Linked DNA regions of Homo sapiens: all the other regions are linked to region 3. The links are contacts of gene promoters, found by promoter capture Hi-C in blood cells and fetal thymus (Javierre and others, 2016). All regions are on one chromosome and are shown on one strand. The core of a region is centred on a gene start or on the middle of the fragment in contact, and the rest is flanking DNA. Distances in the headings are between cores, read along the strand shown.

The links. The method cuts DNA at HindIII sites, captures the fragments that hold promoters and counts their contacts. A CHiCAGO score of 5 or more calls a contact.
Region 1: a contact is called between a fragment that was not itself captured here and the fragment with the promoter of LENG1 in region 3, in 1 of 17 cell types (activated CD4 T cells). The highest score is 6.2, in activated CD4 T cells.
Region 2: a contact is called between the fragment with the promoter of PTOV1 here and the fragment with the promoter of LENG1 in region 3, in 2 of 17 cell types (fetal thymus and non-activated CD4 T cells). The highest score is 5.5, in fetal thymus.

What each region holds. Positions count from the first base shown.
Region 1 is chr19:50,333,216-50,338,311 of GRCh38, forward strand. It overlaps LOC105372437 (a long non-coding RNA gene), which reads left to right. Exons shown (of 4, transcript XR_007067299.1): 2 at 4,787-4,861. It also overlaps a transcript of KCNC3 not described here and the pseudogene NAPSB. Among named protein-coding and RNA genes, the nearest start is that of KCNC3, 6.4 kb to the left of the region's middle. RefSeq lists an enhancer at 403-1,355. The HindIII fragment of the contact is 4,846 bases long and covers 533-5,096 here.
Region 2 is chr19:49,847,625-49,852,408 of GRCh38, forward strand. It overlaps PTOV1 (PTOV1 extended AT-hook containing adaptor protein), which reads left to right and starts at 3,535. Exons shown (of 12, transcript NM_001394010.1): 1 at 3,535-3,875. The coding sequence starts at 3,705. PTOV1-AS1 (PTOV1 antisense RNA 1) reads right to left here and starts at 4,052. Exons shown (of 4, transcript NR_040037.1): 1 at 3,944-4,052. RefSeq lists enhancers at 1,353-1,432, 3,234-3,343 and silencers at 2,924-3,003, 3,444-3,733. The HindIII fragment of the contact is 14,157 bases long and covers 2,958-4,784 here.
Region 3 is chr19:54,157,687-54,162,352 of GRCh38, forward strand. It overlaps LENG1 (leukocyte receptor cluster member 1), which reads right to left and starts at 2,035. Exons shown (of 4, transcript NM_024316.3): 1 at 1,878-2,035; 2 at 596-775. The coding sequence starts at 2,009. It overlaps TMC4 (transmembrane channel like 4), which reads right to left. Exons shown (of 15, transcript NM_144686.4): 11 at 4,416-4,599; 12 at 3,444-3,574; 13 at 3,192-3,347; 14 at 2,781-2,859; 15 at 2,422-2,688. The coding sequence ends at 2,620. RefSeq lists an enhancer at 1,368-2,037. The HindIII fragment of the contact is 1,716 bases long and covers 1,614-3,329 here.

The DNA.
Region 1 (5,096 bases), core at 1,706-4,205, 3.8 Mb before region 3:
GGAATCCGGGGCTCGAGATGGGGGGAGGGGTGACCCAGCCCCGGCAGCTCTGGGCAGCAAGAGGCTGCAGAGGGGGGAGTGACATCACCGCCGGAGGAGGGGCAGCACCGCTCCCCCAACCCAGGGGCTTCAAGCTCCGCCTTTATGGCGGACCCCGGGGTCCTGGAATGCCAAGGCAGAGAGGAGAAACAGGAGACGAGGTCCGAGGGAACGGTATCCCCGCCCCTTAGAACAGGAACTGGTAAACCCTTACCAATTACAGCCACCCCCGACTGCCACCTGTGGCTGCCGTCGCGACCTGTCGCCTCCCACGCATGTTGTGGCTGCGCCCGCCCCCGTCAGGGCGTGACCACGGCGTGGACTACAACGACCGTGATGCTCCACGGAGCCAGGAGCCTTTGACGAAAGGCAGCGTAGGCGAGGGCCTTCATGGGACTCGTAGTACAAGGCCCATCACAAGGGTGCGCCGTGGAGAAAAGGGGTGATACCCTTCGCCTCCCTCTCTTCCTCAACTCCGTGGGTCCATGCACAAAGCTTTCTCTTCAAAAAGTACGCTCTGAAAAGAAGCAACCTAGGCAGGTTCGTTCAATGGAAATATTGGATTTTTACTGAGTAGCGCTAGCTCTGCTACCCGGTGCGCATGCGCATCACCTGGGCGGCACCCGCGGTACTGCGCCTGCGCGGTCTCGCGCCTTCCCAGGTCCGCTCCGCGAGGGCGAGCGCGCGCCAGTCCCACTCGTGCGCCGCTCTTCATGTCCCCGCGGTCGAAGACGGTCACATACGCCCCCAAGAAAACGTCGCCGAGGATCCACACAGGTACTGGAGGCGAAGCGATGTCCAAGGCCCGGAAGCCGGACAAGCAGAGGCGGACGTCACCCTGAGCAAACTGCAAGGCGACAAGGCGGCAACTGGGTGTCCAGGCCGCAGGAACCACCATTTCCCTGGGAGTCCGTGCTCTCTCCGCCCCCAACCCCGGGGACAAGAAATGTTTCTGTGGCCCCTTCCGGCCCTAGTGATGTCCAACTACCAGCTCCACCCTCTCAACTCCAGTCATATTACATCACTGTGGCGTCATTATGACGGACACCTACCTGGATGACGTAATCCTGGGCCGTGAGATTAAACCAGACCCCCCCAATGAGGAGTGAGACTGCGGGGAGCTTTGGGATTTCTGAGCACCGGATGATGTACTGGTGGAGGAGAGGAACAAGTGAAGATGGGAGATTCCTGCTCTGCTCAAATCCCGTCCGTGGCTCCCCAGTGCCATGGAGTAATGTTCATATTGAGCACCTGGGTATTCAGCACCGTGTGTGGACAGCCCTGTTGCCTAGGCTCCTCTCATCTAGTCCCAAACAAAACTGCATTATCATCTCCCCCAACAACCCCCCCCCCACTCCCACCCCTACTTCACCATCCACTGAGCCACTTAGCATAGACACTTGGGAAGTATCTTTGCTTCCTCCCACCACTCTCTGGCATGTCACTTAAGAAGCCCAGTCCCCTCTGTCCTGGATACGCTCTAGCTACCTGCTTCCCATCCTCAGGCCGCAGTGTTCGCCATGGAATTGCCATCATCTTCCCCAGGACACACCCACCAGAGACTGGGACCTCACCTCCCCAGCCAGCAAGGGGATTCCCCCAATGGCTGCATGCAGGGCCCGGATCTCCTCAGTGGGTCCTACGATGACAGGTGTGCCTGTATCCAGGATGGCAGCACAGCCCTGGGCACAGAGAGTCAGCCGTGAGCCCACCTTCACACTGAGGGGGAAGGAAGCAGTCATTAGAGGCAGGGTCCTAGGAGTCCAGGCCTCCAGCTCCAGACCCAGGAGACCAAGTCCCTCACCGCTCCATGTGGATCTGCCAGTAGGCGGGGACTGTGACTGGCACGAAGGTGAGGGGTGGGATGTAGTGTGCCGGGTCTGAGCCCCCCAGGACCAGCTCTCCTCCATCAGCCACTTCAGGGTCCCTGCAGGGGCAGAGTGTAGAGGTCATTGTCGCCAGCCCTCCCCCGCCAGCCCTAGGAATGGCCAGGGATGGGACTTCCTGCCAATTGGGTCATTTTTGGGGTTCTAGTTGGGGCAGTGGAATGCAGGCAGGGCCGAGATGTTGGGACTGGAAACAAGAAATGAAGGGAAATGGTGCTTTTCTTGATGGAAGTTAGGACTTTAGGATGATGGATACTTCCTGAAGTGGAGAGGAGACTTCTTCATTTGGCTGTGGAAGGTAGAGCTTTTGGGGGAAATTCCTGAGCTGAATATCATAGTAACCAAGCAGACCAGTGGAGTCTCAGAATTGGCTCGAAGGTGTGACTTGTACAGGAGTGGGGTGGCTTCCTGGGAAGGTGCATAGACTTTCTGAATTGCCTGTTGTGGTATCTAGAAAGGTGTTAGACTTCCTGAGCTGGCTGAGAGTGATGGGAACGGGGATGGAAACTTCCTGGAAGATGTAAATGAGTGGGACCTACCGAGAGCTAGGTGGAACTTCTTGAGTGGGTTGGATGTCAGGGTAACTGAGTGGGCATTGGACTGTGTGTGATGGGCCCTGGGAGGGAAAGTGAAGACTTCTCGGGTGGTGGGTGGGACTTCTGAGCATAAGATTGACCTTCCTACCAGGTGGGTGGGGCTTCGTGAATTCAATCAGGCATTTCCTGACTTCTGGTCAGTGTTCTCAAATGGGATTTGAGCTTTATGGTGAAGAGAAGGTTCCTGAGTATTTGGTTGGGTGGGGCATAGAATTTCCTAGTTTGATTTTGAAACTCAGCATATTGAACTGTTGGTGAGTTTCTTTAATATGTCTTAAGTTGTCACTTAAGCTCTGGGGCTTATGAATAGGGTTGAGGTGTTTCTTCTGTTAGGTAGGTGGCTACTTCCTGAATGAAGGGTGGGATTGATTTTTTTTTTTTTTTTTTTTTTTTGGAGACGGTCTCTCTCTGTCACCCAGACTGGAGAGCAGTGGTGCGATCTCGGCTCACTGCAACCTCCACCTCCCGGATTCAAGCAATTCTCCTGCCTCAGCCTCTCAAGTAGCTGGGATTACAGGCATGTGCCACCGCACCCAGCTAATTTTTATAGTTTTAGTACAGATGGGGTTTCACCATGTTAGCCAGGCTGGTCTGGAACTCTTGACTTCAGGTGATCAATCTGCCTCAGCCTCCCAAATTGCTGGGATTACGGGCATGAGCCACCGTGCCTGAACTGGGACTTTCTTTATGGAGTAAGAGACTTCCTGAAGGAGGGCCTCACTTCCTTCTGAGGAATAGGACTCATAGATAGGTGCACCCTCCCCAGCACCTGTTGAAGTAAAAGGAGAAGACAGGCTTATCCAATAGCCCCTGCTCCACCAGTACATCCAGCGGGGGCCGAACTCCTTCCACAGACAGAATGGGAAAACCGAGGCCCAATATCCCATCGGGGCGGGAAACAGTGAAGACCAGGCTGGATTCCCACAGAGCTTCCCCGAAAATCACGGATGCACCCTTGATTCCACCAATCTAGGGGTAGATTGAGATGTGACCAGTTACTTTTGGGAGGACAATAACCACATGTCCTGAGGTCTCCCAAACCAAAGCATTAATCCCAGGTCTGGGGACATCTGGACCCAAGCCCCCAACTGCTTAGCAAACTTTGCCTCTGGACTTGAGAGAATTCCTATCCCTTCACCCAGGAACCCCTCCCCCTCCTTGAGAAGCCCCATCCATCGGCTCAGGAAGCCCCTGCACCTCAAGCCCCTCCCTAAGCCAGATGATCTTAGACAACAGGGTTCTCCCAGGCTCGAGGCTTCCTGGAGTCAAAGGCCACTCACAGTCAGCTTGTCCTCACTCAGGATTCCATCTACCCGCCCAGTTCCATACTGAATGGCAAACTTGGTCCCACTGGGCTTGAAGGAGCTGGAGGCATTGGGATTGAAGCGGTGGTGGAACCCTAGGTCAGAAGTCAGAGAGGTGTCACTGTGGGAGGGGAGCTTTCCGAATGCCTTCTGCCCCTTTAACCTTCTGACCTTTGAGGGTGTCAGAAAAGAACAGTTCCTCAAAAACCTTTGGGAAGCTGAGGCCCAGCCCCGCCTTCTCCCTTCACCCCCATTCAGCCTTATTCTCCCACATAGAAGCTCACAGCAGGGCACACTGAAGAAGTGGCATCTCCTGGACGGGACCCAGAGATTGGAGGAGCCAGTGTCAAAGGCAACAGTGAAGTTTTGTGGAGGCGTTCCCAGCCCAATTTCCCCAAAATACTGGGCCTGAGGAGGCAAAAGAAGAGACAGAGTCAATGAAGAGTTTGGCTCAAGGGCACAGGAGTGGGGGCTGTGTAGGGCTGTGACTCACATCCAGGAATTTGGAGAGAGGTACCGAGGCAGGCTTGTCCCCAGGGGATGGGGCCCCCAACTTGGGGAGCTCTGCTGGTTTTCCCCATCCCCTCAGTAGGTTCAGGGTCCTGCGTCCAGGGTGGACTTGACGAAGAGGGATCCTGTAGGGTATGAAGATGATGAGAATTAGGAAGCCGCCCTTCCTGGAGACCCTCTAAAATAGACTTACCCAAATGGAATATGATGACAAATTCAACATTTCCAAGGCGCTACAATAGGAGTCATTACCAGAAACCCTACAATAACAACCTCCGGGAAACCCTAGCACAGAAACCATGATGACAGATATCCCCAAAGACTTTACAGGAACAAACCATCCCAAACAGAACTTCCCAATGGTATCCAAGTCCTTAAAATAAGCCATTCCCAGGGAATTGACATTCTCAAAGTTTTCCCAAGACCCTAACATGAAATCTGACCTTTGCAGAAGCCCTCGGATGGTGGCCCTTGCATGCTTCAGTTCATGATGTTGGAGACTATTTCCCCACCCTTGCGGAAAAACGTAAGCATCAAATCTTAATTTCACTTTTTTTTCCTGCAACCTCTGCCTCCTGGGTTCCAGTGATTCTCCTGCCTCAGCCTCCCGAGTAGCTGGGACTACAGGCGCGCACCACCACGCCCAGCTAATTTTTGTATTTTTGGTTGAGACGGGGTTTCGCAATGTTGGCCAGGTTGCTCTCGAACTCCTGACCTCAGGTGATCCACCTGCCTCAGCCTCCCAAAGTGCTGGGATTACA
Region 2 (4,784 bases), core at 2,285-4,784, 4.3 Mb before region 3:
ATTGTGTATATCAGGAAAGGCCAGATTACCCCCAGATTGCAGTGGCTTGAAACAGCCAAGGTGGATTTTGTCACTCGTGCTGTATTGAGTGTCAGCTTGGAGCCCGTGCGGACAGATCATGAAGGTTGCCAATGGACATAGTAAAGGCAGAGGGGTCTGGTCTTCCATTAGCAATTATGTGCTCTTGCTGAATTCACATGTGTCACTTCTGCTCATATCTCATTGGCCAGATGTAATCACATGGCCTCACACCTTACTGGCCAAAATTAATCACATGGCCGCACTCAAGCTAAATGGGGTCAAATGCTGGCCAAGTGTGGAGCTAGAAATATATGGCAAATAGCACTAACGGCCATCTTAACACTTTAAACATCTTATTTTAACCAAGAACATTTAAACAGACATCTCTTGTACGTAGGACCAAGACCCTTTCTTTCAGTATTGGTCTCCTAGTTAGCACACGACATTACATTCTTGTTTTTGAGACAGGGTCTCACTTTGTCACTTGGACTGAAGTGCAGTGGTGTGAACACGGCTCACTACAGCCTCAATCTCCTGGACTCAAGAGATCCTCCCACCTCAGCCTCCTGAGTAGCTGGGACCACAGGTGCATGCCACCATGCCTAGAAAATTATTGTTGTTTTTGTAGAGGTGGGAGTCTCACTGTGTTGCCCAGGCTGGTCTCGAGCTCCTGGGCTCAAGCAATCTTCCCACCTCAGCCTCCCAATGTGTTGGGATTACGGGCATGAGCCACTGCGCCCAGTAGAACATCACATTCTTGTATAAGCTCCACCCACAAACCACAATGAGTCATTTTTTTAAGTGGCTTGAGAACCTAAAGACATTTATGAAACAAACTGGGGGCTGAGTCTTCCTAGGTTTTTATAAGCTTTTTCATTAAATAATTTACAGTTGCTTTACTTGTACCTAACTTGGCAGCATTTTTTTTTTTTTAAGAGATGGAGTCTTGCTTTGTTGCTCAGGCTGGAGTTGCAGTGGTGAGATCTCAGCTCACTGCAACCTCCACCCCCTGGGTTCAATCGATTCTCCTGCCTTAGCCTCCAGAGTAGCTGGGACTACAGGCATACACCACCATGCCCGGTTAACTTTTGTATTTTTAGTGGAGACGGTGTTTCACCATGTTGGCCAGACTGGTCTTGAACTCCTGACCTGAAGTGATCTGCCCACCTCGGCTTCCCAAAGTGCAGAATTACAGGTGTGAGCCACCACGCCTGGCATGTTTTTCTTTTAACAACTCCCTTTTAGTCTTTCCAAAGCAAGCAATCTGGTTTGTGTATAAACAACTGTCTTGCATTAATTTCATTAGTTTGATAGTAAATTAAACAAGAACTTCTGGCATAAACAGGTTTGGATCAAACAGCTACCTTTCAGGAAGTAAACAGCTTGAGAGATGGAAGTGGAATTGCTTAGTCATAATAGTAGCCTGCTAGCCCCAGCAGTGGGCTTCACAGATGAAAAGGAAAGTGTCTTTCAAGTTGGTGGACCGAGTTAAGTGAGATGGTTTCAGAGAGTTTTGTTGCAGTATTACTGATAGAATTTCAGCCTACATTTTCATTTCACTTTCTGACATGAGTTCCCATTTTGCTCACTCTGGAGTACACCCTGGTATACCGCTCTCCATGCTTATACAATTCAGGGCATTCAAACTCACGTGTGTCCTGATGGGTTCTGAGGGATGGGAAGGCATTAACAGGTAGAGAACAGGAAGGATGGGAGAGAGATTTTTTGGGGGGCGGCAGCAGGGGCCACAGTACCAAGTTTGGATTTAATTCTAAAGGCACTGGGAAGCCATTGGATGGTTTTGATTATTGTAGTGACAGAGAAGGCAGCAAGAGTTAGGAGACGTCACCCAGGCAAGAGATCTTGATGGTTTGGACCAACAAGAATGGGGAGAAGTGAGGATTCCGGGAGATTAAAGCAGCTCCTGTTTTTTCTCCTTCCTGCTGCCAGGTTGTCCTCACATGGGTGATTGACAGGGCATTGGAGGTACCTGTTGATAACTAACTTGCAGTTTGTGTTCAGGGAGCACTGACTCCGTTTGGCCACAATGCAGGTTGGATTTGGGGTTTAAGGCTGGGCTCCAGTCAGCCCTCGGGAGCCCCTGGGCAGGAAAACATGGACAGGCCTACGGGTTCTTCTGCCATTTCACTGGCCACTCCTCCGTGTCCTTTGCTGGTTGCTTCTCATTGTCGTGACTGCTAAAGGGATGAGTGTCCCAGTCTCTTTGTGAGCTCATCCAGTCTCCATTCAAACACTGATGACTCCCGAATTTCTCTCTCCAGGCTATGACATCAATATCTATCTACATTGTTTAGTCAACATCCGAAACAGAAGTAGGGACTCCGTCTCTAACCTCCTACAGCTGTGTCTATTTCTCCTCTCTACCTTCACTCGACTCCGCCCACACTGGCTCCCTTTTATTCCTTCTACTTTCAGGATTTGTCTTTGCTGTTCTGTCCTCTTTGCACACTTTTCCAGCCATCTGGAATGGCAGGTTGCTCACAGGTCGTTTTCTTGACTTCCCTTGCTTGCTAACTTTACCTCGCTATGGTCATATCCCATCGCCCTGTGGATGTGCGCTAGTTAACACTTAGCACAGCCTGTGATTATGTCTCTCCCCAGTGGACCGTGGGGCCTGTGAGGGACGTGGTCTGATTCGGTCGTCGCCGAGCACAGAACTGGACAGGGTACTCATAACAGATTTTTGTTGTTGTTTTTAAAGAAAAGCTAACATTTGAGTAGTGACTGCGCCAAGCAGTCAAGCACAGCCCCTCGGGCTCGATCCCCATAACCACTCTAGGGTTAGGTATTACCCACGTTTAAGGAACAAAAATCGAGGGAAAAATCTTATACAACTACTAGTAAGTAGTCATTCCATTTTAGCAGAGCGAATGAGCGAATCCACGGAAGGCCGGGGAGCGACGTGAGTGGCGAGAAGCTTGGAGTCGCCAGGGACGGCGGGCGGAGCCTGGGCGCCGGGGCTAATGGGCGGAGCCTCCAGGGACAGCTGGCCCCGCCCAGGCCGCGCGGGGCCCGCTGGGAGTTGGAGTCCCTTGCCCACCTCGCCACGTCACCGACTGCAAACCTTCAGCTGTCTCAGGCTCGGGTGCAATCCGTACCCTCAGTGGGTTCCCTTTCAGTGGGTTCCTTTGTCCCCAGGCCCATTATTCCGTCCTCCCCTCTTCCCTGATGTATTTTGGCGCGGTCTCCTGGCTCTGCGGGCCCAGGGCTCCGGATGAGGTCTCCCGCCGTCCCGACCCCCGCAAGGGGCCAGCTTGGTGTCGCCTTCGTTCTTCTGCCACCCCATTCGGTAGGGGCTCCCGTTCCCGCCACGCCCCCTGAAGTTGTGGCTCGCGCGTCTTCCCAGGACTCCCCCGCGCCGGAGAGGCCCGCAGGACCGCCGAGCCCACACTCCGCTCCCGCCCGGGCCCCGCTCCCCCGCGCCGCCTTGGTACGCTCCGGCCACGCCCCCTCGGACGCGCTTGGTACGCGCCGGGCTCCCCCGCTCGCCTCAGTGGTTCGGCCGCGGCGACCCCACTCCGGCGGCGCGTCCCCCGAGCTTGGTACGGCTCAGCCCGTCTCCCCCGAAGCCGCGCGCCCGCGCCCGCGCCCCTCAGTCGGTGGAGCCCGCAGCCCCCCTTGTGGCCCGCGGCAGCTCCCCGCCCGCTCGGCCCGCGCCCGCCATGGTCCGTCCGCGCCGTGCCCCGTACCGCTCCGGCGCCGGGGGCCCCCTCGGGGGTCGCGGCCGCCCTCCGCGGCCCCTCGTGGTGCGCGCCGTCCGCTCGCGCTCCTGGCCTGCCAGCCCCCGAGGCCCGCAGCCTCCGCGGATCCGGGCCCGCTCGGCCCCTCCCATGGTGAGCCCCCCGCCCTTTTTCCAGAGCCTTCCACGGCCCCGCCCCCCCAGCCCCTATCCCGGGCTCACGCCTTTGTCCGCAGCCCCCGCCGCTCCGGGGTGTCCCCTGTGGCCCGAAGGGTGGTCCCGCCCGGGGCCGGGTTCCCCCGTGGAGCACCCGGTGGTTCGCGCCGCGCTCTCCCCTTTGTTGCGCGTTCGGGCCGGGGTGGGGGGTTGGGGGACGGGGGCGGGGCGGGCTCATATTACTGCTGACTCCGCGGCCCGATTTAAACGCGGGCTGGGGGCGGCAGACAGGCAGCCGGCACGCTCGCTTGTTTTTCCTATTGGAGAGTTGCTCGCTCTCCGGGCAGGAAACCTGGAAATGGGGGCGGTTTTGGGGGACAGCGGCGAGGGAGGGGCCCGCGCTTTGTACCAGCGCCCCCAGATGTCGCACCCGTGGGCGTTCTCCCCTGGCGGCCGCTCCGTGCCCGTGGAGTGCGCACCTAGAATACGCGCCCGCGCCCACATGTGGGATGCTTTGATGGACTGCCGTGAGCCCAGACCTTAAACGTAAACATTCAGCTTCGCAGGTACTTTGGGCTGCACACGCTTCTCCGGACCCAAAAGATGCACATGCTTTTCAGAAACCGTAAGGTTTACCTGGGGCTGTAAAACCGCACATCGCGACTTTGCACCGTGCACACGCTTGCCCCGATGTGAGATTTCCCCTGGGTTCGCGCTCGGGTCCGCTTCTTAAATACACTGCCTCAGCGGTGTGGATGGCACAGAGCTGTGGCAGCCCTACTGAAACCTTAAACAGGCTTCCTGGGGTCATAAACATGGATACCGAGACTTAGATCACCTCCCACAACTTAAACGTACCCCTTCACTCCACTGCCTTCGCCCCTTCCTGCAGCATTCGCATCTAGTT
Region 3 (4,666 bases), core at 785-3,284:
ACTTGATCTTAGCCAAAAAGCAAGAGGCGATTGATTCACTTTTTGTTTGATTGTTTTGAGATGGGGTCTCGCTCTGTCACCCAGGCTGGAGTGCAGTGGCGCAATCTCGGCTTACTGCAGCTTCCACCTCCTGGGTCAAGCGATTCTCCTGCTTCAGCCTCCCTGGGATTACAGGCGCGCACCACCATGCCCGGCTAATTTTTTTTGTATTTTTAGAGATACCATGTTGACCAGGCTGGTCTTGAACTCCTGACCTCAGGTGATCCACCCGCCTCAGCCTCCCAAGGTGGTGGGATTACAGGCGTGAGCCACAGCCGGCTGATTTAAATTTTTAAAAGCCCATCAGGTTTGAGACTCCTCCAGTTTGGAGAACTGAGCGGTTTGCCCAGCAGCTGGGGACCTCTAGCATCTACCTCCAACCCCTGTGGGCGCCCAGACGGCAATAGCCAACGCTTTTTGAGTGTCATGCCTTGGTATGGTCCTAAATTCTGTGTGTTCACTCTTGTTTGACCTTGGTCACAACCAATGGCTAAAGTGCCCCCTCCCTCCAACTCGATTCATGGCCCCTCTGATGAAGTGGGTGAGGCCAGCTTACTTTCTCCTGTCGCTTTTCTTCCTTGTACTCTTTATTGCCTCTGATCACTCCTTTCCCTTCCTCCAGCAGCTCCCGAAACAGGTCCACAGGGCCAGAACCTGGGGCTCCCGCCTCTGCTGCTTCAAGCTCAGGCAGTGAGTTCTGATGTCTGGCTTTCTTCCGTAGGAATTCTGTACGGGCCTGGGGAGAAAGTTATAGGCAGGACATTCAGAACCTAGAGGTAATTCAAGAACTGTGAGTCTGGTGCCCACCACAGAAAATGGCAGTCCAGGGTGCTGGGGTTATGAGAAAGGGAGCACTAGGCGCCTAAAAGAGGCACCTGTCCTAGCTGGGGGTGAGGGTAGGCAGATGAGGCAACGCCTGGGTTTTGTAAACTCCCTTTCAAATAGTAAACCACGGGTCATCAAGGATGTATGGGAGGAGGTCCCTGGCCTAAACCAAAGGGGTTCCTAACCTCAAGTGAGACAATTAAAACAGCCATAAAGGTATGCATTAGGCCAGACGATCTGAATTCTAGCCATGGCTCCAAGTGACTACCCCAAGTCTGCTGAAGCCCTGTCCCCTGCCTTCAGGACGCGGATTTCAAACAGCGCTCAGCAGCCTACTGAGATTCTAAAAACCTAGACTACCTCCCACCCACGGCGGAGGATCAGACTAGCTAAGGAAATGAAAGTTGGGTGTACACCAAACAGATTTAAAGAGCCATACGGAAAGCCCGTGTTTGTGTGTATGTGTCTAGGGGGCGGTGCACGAAAGGGCTCGCCCGATGGCGTGGAGCCTGGCTGTCCGCCTCTCCTTAAAATGTGCCTTCCCCTCACTGAAGCCATCTCACTTCGTGCAACAGAGATGACAGTGCCCCTCTAAGAACGAACAGTGCTTATTGGGGATTCCGCAAGTCAGGTGCACGGCATGTAGTTAGCATACAGTAGATGCTCAATAAATAGGCTGTGCAGGCAAACTAAAAAGTGATCCGAATTTCCTTGAACTGTCCAAGGGTTCACGGATTCATTAAATGTTAAGCTTCTCTTTTGTGCTAGACACTGTTCCAGCCATGTGAAATACATCAGTGGGGGAAAAACTAAGACGAGGGCGAGATCAAGGAAGGTTTCGTGGAAGTGGGCACAAGGTTTGCGGGGCAACGTCCTCGAAAGTGGGATCGGCGCCTGGTCCCGAATTTCACACGGGGCACATTGAGCCTGCGCAACGCCTCCGCTTCCGGCCCCCAACCGCGGCGCCTGCGCGCTGGGCCCCGGAGCGCCGCCCTGCCGGCTTCCGAGCTTACCTCTTGCTGAGCCAGCAGCACCCTCCGCTCACGCTCCTTCTCCTCCTCCCGGGCCTGGGCCTCGTCACGCCGCACGCGGGCGACATTGTCCTTGTTCCGGACGTGCCAGCTCTTCTTGGGCAAGATATTCATGGCGTCGTAGCTGTCCAGGGACTGGCACGCCCGCCTCTTTGCACTTCCGATTGGCGAGAGGATGCCCCCCTTTTTCTTGTCCCTACTTCGACCGCGGATTGGTTCCGAATTAGTTGGTACGGCCCCCTGGCCTGTAGCGACAGGTGATTGGCTGAGACGCCCTTTATCACAGCGAATGCTAGGCGTTCGGCTCGTGGTATCCCCTAGCAACCGCCTCTTGTCACAGATCTGAACCAATCATAAGTTGGCCCGCCCCTGATGCTACCAGATGCGGCCGTCGATTGGCCGACATGACCGACAAGTCTCCTTGCGGAAGAGCGCTCTGCACCGACAAACATGCCCGTACATTTGATTGGCTCCTGCCCCGCTGTAGCCCTGCCCCCACCTTCAGGACGCAGATTTCAAAGCGCGCTCAGCAACCTCGGCTGTATTTATTGATACAAGGAAGATCACCCGAGAGTCAGGGACGTGGCGGCGAGGGGCCCTGGAAATCTCCAGATACCAAAGCTGGAAGGGCGTGGAGTCTTCTCCAGTTCTCCTAGTTTACAGATGTTGTGACCTAGGCTTACAATGGGCCTGGGGTCTGAAAGCGGGACGTGGGCTGCGGGGGTCAAAGAGCCGGTTTGGTGGAGGTCAGCGCCACAGCGCGCCGTGCCAGGAAGACTTTATTCTGCGCCTCCTGGGGCAAAGAGAGGTGGAGGTGAGACAATCCTCTTCCCCAACCCCTTTCCATGTTCCCCAGGGGCCCTCTCAGGGACCCGCCTGGCTCACCGTCTCTCTCTGACGTTTGAGCTCAGAGATGAGGCGTCCGTAGGAGTTAGCCAGAGCCACAGTGTACGCCATCAGGATGCTGAAGGAGACAGGAACGGAAGCCACTCCTGACACGCTCTTCCATTATATCCAAACGTCTGGCTCCTTCGAAGCCAGGGATGTGGACGCCTAAGCCCCTCCTCGTCTGGGCTCAAGGAGTTCAGTCTCCCAGCCCCTCCGCCTTCAGATCCAGGAGTCCTACGTCCCGCCCACCTCCTCCTTCGGACCCAGCAGTCCAGGAGCCTAGGCCTCCTCCCTCAGACTCAGTACGTTGCCTGCTCCCACGCCCAAGCCTCTCCTCTCTTGGACGCAGGTGGTGGCCCCCAGATCACACGCATTCAAACCCAGACCCAGAAGTCTGGGCCGTCTCACCTGGAGATCAGCAGAAGGGGCACAGCAAAAGCCTGGGTCCCCAGGAAGAAGAGGAAATTCTGGGTGGTCTCAGGGAGGCTGGAAATAGACTCAGGGATCTGGGCCCAGATGGACGACTGCCCCCGGAATGGACCACACAGCTTAGAAGGCGGGATCCTGAAGTCAAGACAGGCTGGGCTCACATAGTGCCAGGAGTCTGAACACTGAATGGGGAGAGAGGGAGGGAGAGAGGCGGGAGCCTCTCGCACTTACAGGAAGATGCTGTAAAGCAGGGGAACGCTGGAGATGGCCAGACCCAGGAGAAGGACCAAGGGGAAAAAGAAATTCGCCGCGGAGGCCCGGAAGGTGCGGGCAGCCGGGGAGCAGGTGGAGAAGAGGGTAAGCTGGTGGGGGAAGGCACGGAGAAAAGGGCTCTGAAACACAAGAGTCTGTGCCTCCATTTTTTTTTTTTTTTTTTTTTGAGACAGAGTCTCGCTCTGTCGCCCAGGCTTTTTTTTTTGAGACAGAGTCTCGCTCTGTCGCCCAGGCTGGAGTGCAGTGGCTCTCACTGCAGCCTCCCCTCCCGGGTTCAAGCTATTCTCGTGTCTCAGCCTCCCGAGTAGCTGGGATTACAGGTGTGCACCACCACTCCCGGCTAATTTGTTTTGCTGTTGTTGTTGTTTGTTTGTTTTCTCTTTTTGAGACGGAGTCTCGCTCTGTCGCCCAGGCTGGAGTGCAGTGGCACGATCTTGGCTCACTTCGACCTTCACCTCCCTGGTTCAAGCAATTCCCCTGCCTCAGCCTCCTGAGTAGCTGGGATTACAGGCGCCTGCCACTAAGCCCGGCTAATTTTTTTTGTATTTTTAGTAGAGACGGGGTTTTGCCATGTTAGCCAGGCTGGTCTCAAACTCCTGACCTCAGGTGATCCACCCGCCTTAGTCTCCCGAAGTGCTGGGATTACAGGCGTGAGCCACTGCACCCGGCCTACCTGCCTCTCCTTTTTTCCGAACCAGGAGTCTGAGCCCCTTCCTCATCTAGGACCCCGGAGTCTGAGTCCCCAGATCCTCAGACATATAAGTCAGAATGCCCTAGACCCCTCCTCTCAGATGCAGTAGTCTGTCCTCCAACCCCCTCCTCTCTCAGGACCGAGTAATCCAGGCCCCCAGGATCTTCCTTGCCCTTGACCCAGGAGTGCGGGCCCCAATACCTCCTGCCTCAGACCCAAGGGTCCCCCCTACCCCTTACCTTCTTCAGGTAGAAAAGCAGCAGGAACTTGACCGTGTTAAGCAGGGGCAGTAAAGGGCAGAAAAAACTCCCCACCCAGACCACCGTCTGCGCGTAGATGAGCCCCAGCACCTCGTCGGGCACCTGGAACTCTTGGGTCCCCGCCAGACGACCCAGCGCCCCAGGACAGAGGCCACAGAGGAGCCTGAAGGACGGGGCGGGGCCGGGCCGGAGTCAGGGGAGTGGCGGCCTGGAGTTTCCACGCCTCCACC